2 separate regions of the Homo sapiens genome follow, and region 1 is linked to region 2. The links are contacts of gene promoters, found by promoter capture Hi-C in blood cells and fetal thymus (Javierre and others, 2016). All regions are on one chromosome and are shown on one strand. The core of a region is centred on a gene start or on the middle of the fragment in contact, and the rest is flanking DNA. Distances in the headings are between cores, read along the strand shown.

Region 1 (5,272 bases), core at 1,065-3,564, 150 kb before region 2:
TCAGTGGCTCATGTCTGTAATCCCAGCGCTTTGGGAGGCCGAGGTGGGTGGATCATCTGAGGTCAGGAGTTTGAGATCAGCCTGTCCAACATGGTGAAACCCCGTCTCTACTAAAAATACAAAAATTAGCTGGGCATGGTGGCCAGCGCCTGTAATCCCAGCTAGTCAGGAGGCTGAGGCAGGAGAATGGCTTGAACCCGGGAGGCGGAGGTTGCAGTGAGCCGAGATTATGCCATTGCACTCCAGCCTGGGCAACAGAGCGAGACTCGGTCTAAAAAAAAAAGATATTTTTTGGCATTTAATTTTAAGTAGGGAAATACCTGCTGTATTCATTTTAAAATAATGTATATTTATTACATAGTAATGTGTGGATATATTTTTATTGTAAGAAAACTAAAATATTAAAGATTAAAAACTAAAATTCCCTATGATCGCCACCTCCCAATGCCATTTCTCCTCCCCAGAAGTAACCACATATCAGTTATATATAGCAACATGTATTATCAGTGATGGTAGGTTAGGTTATGCTACAATAACCTACAATAACAACATCCTCAAAGTCTCAGTGTCTTATATTAATAAAAGTTTATGTCTTTTGTTTGTTTGTTTTTTTGTTGAGACAGGGTCTCACTCTGTCTCCCAGGCTGTAGTGCAGTGGCATGATCATGGCTCACCGTAGCCTCGACCTCCTGGGCTCAGGTGATCCTCTCATCTCAGCCTCCCAAGTAGCTGGGACTACAGATGTGTGCCACAAGGCCCAGCTAATTTTTTGTGGTTTTTGTGGAGACAGGGTTTTACCATGTTGCTCAGGCTGGTCTCGAACTCCCCAGCTCAAGCAATCCATCTGCCTCAGCCTCCCAGAGTGCTGGGATTACAGGCGTGAGCCACTGCGCCCAGCCTAAAAATTTATATCTTAATTGCATGTTTGTGATGGGTTGAATTCAGCTGTATCTCTGGACACAGCTGGAAGAAGCAGCTGGAACATGCTGATCTCATGGAATAAGGAAAAGAGAGAATGGGGGAGCCTCTTAAAGCTTCTGCTTGGATGTCTCACATGTCACTTCCACTCAAATTCCCTTGGCCAAAGCAAATCATATGGCTATGCCTGACTTACGTGGGGTGGGGATGTAGAATCCTTCCATAGGGCAAGTCGGTAAAATTCCATCCTTTTATAGTGTATGTAAAACTCTAGAAATAGATATAATTTTTATATAGTTTATTAGGGTACTGAATCTTATTTCTTCATGCAAAAATATGTCTTAGAGGTCTTTCCATATTATACAAATAGATCCATCTCTTTTTAATTTAATTTTTTAATTTTTTTAACCCCAGGGCAGAAGGCACCATCTCCTTTTTATTTTATTTTTATTTTTATTTTTCAGATGGAATCTCACTCTATCGCCCAGGCTGGAGTGTAGTGGCATGATCTCGGCTCACTGCAACCTCCGACTCCTGGGTTCAAGTGATTCTCCTGCCTCAGCCTCCCAAGTAGCTGGGATTACAGGCGCCCACCACCACGCCTGGCTTTTTTTTTTTTGTATTTTTAGTAGACATGGGGTTTCATCATGTTGGCCAGGCTGGTTTCAAACACCTGACCTCAAGTGATCCCCCAGCCTTGGACTCCCAAAGGGTTAGGATTACAGGCGTGAGCCACTGTGCCTGGCCAATTCTTCCATTTCTTATTTGAGAATGTCAAAGAATGCATCTCCAATCAGCCAGTGGAATATTGCATTTTATTTATTTGTTAATGGCTTGCAACCCATAAAATAATCCATACATTATATCAACATGAATGACCCAAATGTATTGGTTATTGCAGCTGGATGGCATGCATAGCCTAGGTCACAGGTGGATGGAAGACAGACAAAACCATTTTTACTCTCTGAATTCCTCCTCCACTACCCCATCACTGATGTTGTCTCCCTCCCAGCCATCTCCCTTATTTGAGGAGCAATGCATGGGGAATAGGTAGTGGGCGCTGCAGTGCATACTGTGGTGTGCCACCCAGACCCCCATCCCCAGGATGGGGCATTTATTCCCCCAGCTGCTGGGAGCATTGGCTGCTGGCAGCTCTCAGCTGAGTCCCTATGACTGTTCGAGGTGGACATTCCAAGGTCCTGTCCTCTTGCCATCCCAGCTCTATATTCCCCATGGCATTAGCCAAGGCCTCTGCTGAGGTTGCACTGCAGTTTGACTTTTCCTTTCCACAGATGTAATCCCGACAGCACTCTGCAATAGACTTCCTGACTTCAAATCTCCATATTGGAGTCTGATTCCTCGGGACCTGACTCACAACAGCCCACCACAGGCTCTGAAGTCAGACAGAACTGGGTTTCAGTCTTATCCCAAACACCAACTAGATATGTAATCCTAGAGATGATAAGTCCACTATACACCTTGTATGCCTCGGGTTTTTAATATCAACTGAATGTTGATAGTTTCTTGGAAACTGCAACTTTAAGTGAAATGATGTATGATGAAACCATTTTTTCCCTCATAATCATAATGGAAGGACATTACTTGAGGACGTGCTGCACATCATTTTGCTTAAAGTCGCAGTTTCCAAGAACCCATCGAAGAAGTTAAGTGAGGACTTACTATATACACTTCTTGCAGTTACTGTGAGGATGAAATAACACATGTAAAACACTGAGCACAGTATCTGGTACGTACTAGGTGCTCAAAACAAGTGCTAGCATGTTAGTAGTACTATTACATTAAAATGATAATCTTGGTAGAGTAATTAGATGATCCAGGACAGAGGAGATGGAGAGATTTTGCTAAAATTCATTCTCTCTTTTCCCCTCCTTGCCTGCATTTCCAGTGCCCTCACGCCCCGCTGAAACAGAAATAGACCTGTTGTGCTAACTTATTTCCGGAAGATGGCGCCAGCAGATAACGCTGCGGACGAGTCCCTTTGGTTTTCTTTTTCTTTTTCTTTTTCTTTTTCTTTTTTTTTGAGATGGAGTCTCGCTCTGTCGCCCAGGCTGGAGTGCAATGGCACGATCTCGGCTCACTGCAACCTCCGTCTCCCAGGTTTGAGGGATTCTCCTGCCTCAGCCCCCCAAGTAGCTGGGATTACAGTCATGTGCCACCACGCCTGGCTCATTTTTGTATTTTTAATAGGGGGGGGGTTCACCATGTTGGCCAGGCTGGTCTTGAACTCCTGGCCTCAAGTGATCCGCCTACCTCGGCCTCCCAAAGTGCTGGGATTACAGGTGTGAGCCACTACGCCTGGCCAGGAACAATTTTCACTATTCACAGATTACATATCAATTTCACATGTGTTATCTCATTTGATTCTCCTTCACCAACCATTTACCAAATGCTGATTATTCCATCTTTACTGTTTTATCCCTTCGCCAACAAATGCTTACTGAGCACTTACTCTAGCCAAAGAGCATCTTTAAATGCCTTCTCAAGCGCAATGACTAAGAAACAAAAAAGGAAATAGAATTCTAAGCCTCTGCTGGAGAGCTGGACTTTCCAGAGATGAATAAGACAAGTTCCAGCCACTGATTTCTTTCTGGTTCTGGGTTGATGTCAACTTGTGCTCTGGAAGGAGGCTGCTTTCATAAAGCAGAAGAAGCTTAATTCAAGTGAAACTGAGTCAGAAAGAAAGCAATTCCTTTGCAGGAGCAGCTAGGGTGCATCTCAGAGACTGTCTGCAGTACTTCCCAAGGGCTATTGATCTGAGAGCAGAGCATTCGGTCCTTGGACTGGTGAAAATTGCTGAGCAGGCAAAAGAAGAATAAAACCCGTAAAGGGAATGGAGAAAAGATGTTGAAGGGCTTCCGGGTAGGGAAGGTTAGCTGGACTGCATTCAGGAGCTCCAGACAGAAGTGACTCTGCAGTTCCTTGAGCTTCGCAGGCAGGCCTGCAAGCAAACCTGGAAACCACGAGACCAGGGCCTGGCGATCCATTTCTTTGGTGGGGACAGAGGTGCTCACCCTCAGCCTTCTCACGCTCACTCCAGAACTGTGACGGGGTGAGCTCACGTGACAATCACCTCAGCAGTGCAATTTTAGGGGTGTCAAGAAGGGCTCCTTCTATGGCTGAAATCTCTTTCAACAGTTACTGTCTGGTGCCCCAAATGCCACCACTGGTGTCCTTTATTTCTTTTCTTTTCTTTTCTTTTCTTTTCTTTTCTTTTTTTTTTTTTTTTTGAGGCAGGGTCCCACTCTGTCATCTAGACTGGAGTGCAGTGGCGCGATCTGGGCTCACTGCAACCTCTGCCTCCTGGGTTCAATCAATTCTCCAGCATCAGCCTCCTGAGCAGCTGGGACCACAGGTGCATGCCACCGTGCCAGGCTAAGTTTTATATATTTTTGTAGAGATGAGACTTCACCATGTTGGCCAGACTGGTCTCGAACTCCTGACCTCAAATGATCCTCCCGTCTCGGCCTCCCAAAGTGCTGAGATTACAGGCACGAGCCACTGCGCACAGCCCATTAGTGTCCTTTAATATGAATATTGCAAGAGTTAAAAACAGGACTTCTATAAAGAAATGTATAATTATATTGGCTTGGAGAAAATTCTGCAAGTGTACACATCAGTTGTTAACAGGGGTTATCGTGAGCCAGAAAGTGTGGAGTAAGTAAGGGAGATTAATGGAGGTCAGAAAAGGAAGAAGAAAAGGATAGATAAGAAAAAAAAATCACACTTAAAAAGGGTGCTCTTGATTAAAAGAATGTGTATTATTTGTTATGATTTATGAAAAAGGTTACTTCTATTGCCCATACGCGTTAAGACAGGCATGAAAGATGCCCAGTAAAATATTAACAGTAGTTATTATATGCTGATGAGATTTCAAAGAATGTTACTTTCTTCCTTATAACTTTATATATTTAAATTTTTATAGGGAGCATTTAAATCAGGAAAGTGGGAAAAAGCAAAATTAAGAACATTATTGCAAGCCAAATGAGAAAAGCAATAACAAAAAAATAACAAAAGTAAAACAAAATTTGAGCCATTCAAATTCTAACTTCTCTATTCCGTGGCTGTGGGACTCTAAAGAAATTACTTAACTTCTTTGATCCTCAGTTTCTTCCTCTTTAATTTTTAATTTATTTTATGAGATAGTGTATTAGGGTTCTCTAGAGGGACAGAACTAATAGGATAGATGTATATATGTAAGGGAGTTTATTATGGAATATTGACTCACACGAGTTTTGTTGAATGCATATGGAGTAGATTATAGAATCACAGGGGAACCAAACTCAGAGGTTGAGAAGCCAGGCATGGTGTCTCCATTCACATCAACAGAATTGGC
Region 2 (5,730 bases), core at 2,311-4,810:
CCACTCTGGGGCTTACAAAATCAGAAGTCCCAGAGTCAGGGACCTGGAATCTTTATTTTTAATAAGCTGTCCAGTGGCTTCTGAAGCTCAGCTAGGTTTTCAGCACCTCTGCCCCAGTCTAACCTCCTCCCCCTGCCAGGTACGGATGGGGAAACTGAGCTCCAGAGAGGGACAGGAACTTAGCACACGTCAGTGTGTTCGATTCAGGGCTGGGAGCGTCCCCGGTCCTGCTTCCCAAGTGAGGACTCAGGGACACGGGATGGGGGTAGACTGTGTCCGTAAGCCAGGGACCCACTCCCCAGAGACAGGATCAGGGTATCAGCCCATGTGGCCTGCCTGACCCTCGCCACCCACATCAGAGAAACAACCAAAGCATACAGCAGGTGCCGTGAGCTCCCTGTCTGCCCATTTGAAGGTGGGGACCAAGAAGGAAGTATAATTCAAGATGCTTCCAGTGGCCCCATCTTTGGGGGGCCAAGTTTGAGTTTAGTAGGATCCTTAGGGGATGAGGGTTTCATCTAGAGGAATGGAGGCTTGCAGTTTATAATGATGGAATTAATGACCTCATATCTCCTGTGCAGCCCCAAAGCAGGCAATGACCCCTTTGCTCTGCCTCACCCTCTGCCCCGCCCAGTGCCCCCACTACCCACAATCCTGCAAACCTGCTTTCAGTTCCCGGCAACTCCCACGCCGGCCACTAGGAGCCATTGCAAACTGGCTGACCAGCCTCTGGTGGGGGCCACAAAGTAGGAGGCGATCACAGCCCCCACTGAGACAGCACTGAGTAGCAGATGGACACACGGAGCTAGGTGTCTGGCTGCCTCACAAGGGAGTGGATCCCATCGCTGCAGGCTGTTCAGATTCTAGAGACGATGGCCTAGCCTCGCCCCTCAAGGTGTGGTCTGAACTAGCAGCAGCAGCGTCATCTAGGAGCTTGTCAGAGAGGCAGCATCTGGAGCCCCTCTATAAATCCGAAGCTGAATTTTTATATAATAAATCCGAATCTGCATTTTCTTTTCTTTTTCTTTCTTTTTTTTTTTTTTCTTTTTTGAGATGGAGTCTTGCTCTGTCACCTAGGCTGGAGTGCAGTGGCACGATCTCGACTCACTGCAACCTTCGCCTCCCAGGTTCAAGCAATTCTTGGGAGGCCTCAGCCTCCCAAGTAGCTAGGATTACAGGTGCATGCCACCATGCCCAGCTAATTTTTTGTATTTTTAGTAGAGACGGGGTTTCACCATGCTGGCCAGGCTGGTCTCAAACTCCTGACCTCATGATCCACCCACCTCGGCCTCCCAAAGTGCTGGGATTACAGGCATGAGCCACCACGCCCAGCCCGAATCTGCATTTTCATAAATCCACAGGTGATTCACATAGAAACGGTCTAGGCTTTTGGGTTCCCTTCTAAGTCAGAGGTTCAGCTCCCTTGGCTTGTGGGCAATGGAGGGAGGACTGTCAGAAATGACTCTCAGGTCCCTCCCACCTGAAAACAGGAGTGCCAGGAAATAGACCAGCAGCTGTGCACCTTGGCTCCCACTGTGGACCCCTCTACTGGCCATGCTTGTCAGGGGGCAGGACTCTGTAGGCCCCGATACCCAGGAGAGGCTATTAATGATATCAACTATTCTAGTGTACAATTATCTCATGTGATACCATATGTATGTCATGTGCCAAGTGCTGTTGTCTCATTTACCCCTCCAATGTGAGGTGCCATCATTATGCCCATTTTAAAGATGAGAAAACTGGAGCTCAAACCGTGTAGTAACACAGCCAGTAAGAGACAGAATCAGGATTGACATCCAAGTTCAAGTTGACATCCAAGGCCCAAACTCAAGTTGTCCCATTGTGCCTCAGTTTCCCCAGGGCCTTGCTGTGATATCTGGTGGTGGGGGGCAAGGCTCATGATATCTGGGGCAGGAGTACTGGGCATGGAGTTTTTTGGGCAAGAGTTGAGATTCAAGTTCTGCCAGTGACTTGCTACGTGACTGAACATGTGGACAAACGGCTTTGGAAGGTGGAGGTGAAGCTCAGTTTTCTCCTCTGTAAACTGGAGTAGAGACAACCTGTTTCTGAGTGATGATGGAGATTAAATGAGGTTCTGGCCAGTCCTTGATCAATGTGATTTTGCTTGTGTCCAGGTGTCTGCCTCCTGCCCCGGTCCACAGCCAGGAGCCCCGGAGCCAACGGCCAGCCTGGAAGACTTACAGTTCTCCCTCTGAGGGTTGCTGTGGCTTTCCATGTTGTGGTGACTAAGTCCCTGTGTTTCTGTGCAGTCCCTGCTTCCTGGGACCAGGGAAGAATGGTCCCGTAAGTCTCACCCTAATGGCAAGTCTAGGACAGCTTTACTTTGTTCTCGTATAATCCTGGGCCCCTTCTCCCTCCTAGAGCCCCAAGTCCCCTATTCCAACTACCCAAGCCACCCACACTGGCATCATGCCCTACCCATCCCCTTTGGAAGAACAAACAGCAGGACAGGATGCCAGCGTGGTTCTCAGGCTTCCCAGGCACGAAGACTTGGAGCCTGAGGGAGAGAAGCTCCTGCCCGTGCTCCTCAAAGGAGCGTGAAAATACAGTGAGATCGTGGCTTGTGGTGGGGCCGATTCCATGGCTCTGGGAACTCAGCATTTGCCGAGGGGATGACAAGGCTTAGCAGCTGTGGCCTTGGTCCAGTTTGGGCTTGGGGAGGCACAGACTGGAGTGCTTCTCCCCCTACATCCATGTCATTCTGGGCTCCACCATGGCTCTCCTCTATTGCTCTGACCTTTCTTTGCTGTGTGGCTTTGGGCAAGTTGCTTACCCTTTCTGAGCCTCACTTGACTGAAAACTGGGGTTGCAAGTTGCTTACCCTTTCTGAGCCTCACTTAACTGAAAATTCCTTATGGGATTGTTGTGCATGTTAGACAAGGTAGATGTCCCACAGGCTCTTTGGTGAATGTCCCATGCAGCATTCAGGGATAAGGCCATTACTCCACAGAGGTGTCTCCTGTTCCCCTCTAGCTAGGGCGGGCGGGTCACTCACTGCCTAAGAGTCCAACAGCATTGATGCCCTTGCAGAATGAACCTTCCAATCAGCTAGGCATCCATCCAAATGCTGGCTCAGAGTTAGGCCAAGCATGTCATGTCTTGAGTGCCCCCATTCATAATGAGGATACATTAAAGTCCTCTTCAATTTGCCTGGTAAGTTTGATGAATGATCATGAATGGTCTTCACAGAGGCCTCACAAACTGTATACCCTTCACCTGGGAAGATGCTGAGGCCCAGAGAAGGCAAGACACATATCTGAGGTCACACAGCAGGGCTGGCCGGAGGCAGCTCTGAGTTCCAGGGAGAGAAGCCCTGCTTAGGCATGGGGGCCAGACTGTGCCCAATGTGGGGCCCTGGAGGAATTCTGCCAAGGGGGTCCTTGGCTGCGATTTTACATCCCCACCCCCTCCACACCCAAATAGTCAGCAGTGCATTCCAGGGCCCGGGCCTCCTTACCTTTGAGAGGAGGCAGAGGAGGGAGAAGGCCAGGAGGTGGGTCTTCGGTGTGCCTCTCATGTCCCCTGCAGAGCCAGCTTTGAGCCTGGGAGGCGGACCTGTGAGTCTTTATGTTCCGGCAGCTGTGAGGTCACTCCCAGGCACACACAGGCACACGCACGAGTACACACGCGCGCGCGCGCGCGCGCTCACACACACACACACACACACACACACACACAAACACACTAGCTTTTTCATTCCTTGCTTCGCTTCCCATCCTCATGGCTCAAAGGATGAGCCCATTTACCTGAAGGTGAAACTGTGAAGGCCACCAAGGGGGTGCCTGTCCGTGTGTGTGTGTGTGTGTGTGTGCGCGTGTGTGTGTGTGAAAGCCTGAGCCAGTGCCAGCACCAAGAGCCTGTGACAGCTTGCAGAGGCCTCTCCAGCTCCTTCCAGCCCAAGAGGGTCCTAGCCCTGCTGTAGTTGTGAAGCCCTATTCCAGACCCCCTGTCCGAACCCCAGCGGGGCTGCAGATACCAGAAGCATTCAGTAAACAACCCCTTTGCAGAGCTGACCCAAGGTCTCCTAAGCTCCGTGGCCCTGACTCTGGGTAGCCGCGGCCCAGCCTGCGGTTTCTGGCAGGCAGATTGGCAGCCACCCAGAGGTGGGTGTGACCCAGAGCAAAACTTCCCTGGGCGGCCTGTTTGCTCTTGGCAATAAGGGGCCTCCCTTGGCCTGCCTCCCGGCTCTGGAAGGGGGCCCGTGGTGGGCGAGTCCGGGCAGGCTGGACCTACTATGTGCCAGCGCTTGCTGGGCACCGCTAGATGATGGGGTCAAGCCAAATCCATTTGGTTTCATTCGGCCGCCTCTGAGTTCGCCTCTGCAGGAGCTGGAGGCACAACACTGACCTGAGGACAAGGCCCAGAGAGGGAGAAAACAGAGGGAAAACAGGTGGAAGTTCAGGAATACCAGGCAAGGTCCCTTGCTCAGACCAAGAGTGAGGGACACTTTCTGATGGAGGTGCCATTTCAGAAAGCCAAGAAAAGAGAGGGTGAGAGAGGGCAGAATGTTCCAGGCCAAGGGAACAGTACGTACCAACGCCTAGATGTCGGACATAGCATGATAGCCTGCTTATTCTGGGAGCCAAAGCGCCTGGTATGAGTGGAGCCTTCTGTGCAACGGGAAATGGTGATGTCTGTGAAGGGTGAGACACACAAGTTCACATCACCAAGATTTGGGGACATCTACTATGTGCCAGCCATGGGGGCGGGGGACAGAAAGACATGGGCTTTGTTTGTAGAATTTGGCAAAGATAAAAGAGGTGATGTCAAGGGCTGTCTGGGGCCCCCATTACCTCCACCAGTAGTTGTCCAAACCTCAAAGTGATCTAGCTGGATAGCAGAGGTTCCAGAATGGGCGATTGGTGAGGAAGAAGTGTGACTTGATATAGTGGCAAGACGGGGATTGTGAGCATGGAGGAGATTCCCCACGGGTGCTGTCCCATCGGAAGAGGCAATGGAAACGGAAGGTGAAGATGAAAGTGTGGGATTTGATTATTTATGGCAGGAAGAGGTGGCCAGGGTGGAGATGGGGGTCTGGAAACTTGGAGGAAAAGAAACAGAAGGGATCTTTTAAATTTTGTTTTATTTTTTGGGATTCTTGTGGAAATGCTAATGTTTTAGTCAGAAGCATGCCTAGAATAATTTACATCCACAGTGGATCATTTTTAACACCCCTCTTCCTTCATAGTACAAAATTATTTTCAGTAATAATCATGAAACAAAACAAATATTTTTCATGTATGAATTAAAATTTGCACTTACCAAACAAAATCATTACCATTCACAGTTCACACTGTTTTACTCTTTTAAAAACTGTAAATACAAATCAAAACTCCAAGTAGTTTCGTAAAATGACAAAATTGAAATACCCTTATCGTCATCTTTCCCATCATTCTGCGTTCATAGTTGATTTCACTCTACTGTTTAAACACAGAAATACAGCTGGGCCGGTGGCTCACGTCTGTAATTTGGGAGGCCAAAGTGGGAGAACCACCTGAGATCAGGAGTTCAAGGCCAGCCTGGCCAACATGGTGAAACCCGTCCCTACTAAAAAAAAAAATACAAAAATTAGCCGGACGTGGTGGGTGCACACCTATAGTCCCAAGTACTCAGGAGGCTGAGGCAGGAGAATTGCTTGAACCCGGGAGGTGGAGGTGGCAGTGAACCGACATCTTGCCGCTGCACTCCAGCCTGGGCGACAGAGAGAGA

Evidence for each region. The method cuts DNA at HindIII sites, captures the fragments that hold promoters and counts their contacts. A CHiCAGO score of 5 or more calls a contact.
Region 1: a contact is called between a fragment that was not itself captured here and the fragment with the promoter of CCN5 in region 2, in 5 of 17 cell types (M2 macrophages, M1 macrophages, M0 macrophages and 2 more). The highest score is 9.5, in M2 macrophages.

Annotation. Positions count from the first base shown.
Region 1 is chr20:44,865,364-44,870,635 of GRCh38, reverse strand. No RefSeq gene overlaps it. Among named protein-coding and RNA genes, the nearest start is that of YWHAB, 18 kb to the left of the region's middle. The HindIII fragment of the contact is 2,555 bases long and covers 1,037-3,591 here.
Region 2 is chr20:44,713,199-44,718,928 of GRCh38, reverse strand. CCN5 (cellular communication network factor 5) reads right to left here and starts at 3,560. Exons shown (of 4, transcript NM_003881.4): 1 at 3,479-3,560. The coding sequence starts at 3,538. KCNK15-AS1 (KCNK15 and WISP2 antisense RNA 1) reads left to right here. Exons shown (of 5, transcript NR_132377.1): 4 at 2,136-2,304. It overlaps LOC124904911 (a long non-coding RNA gene), which reads left to right and starts at 4,155. Exons shown (of 2, transcript XR_007067598.1): 1 at 4,155-4,988. RefSeq lists a silencer at 3,967-4,261. The HindIII fragment of the contact is 18,609 bases long and covers 1-5,730 here.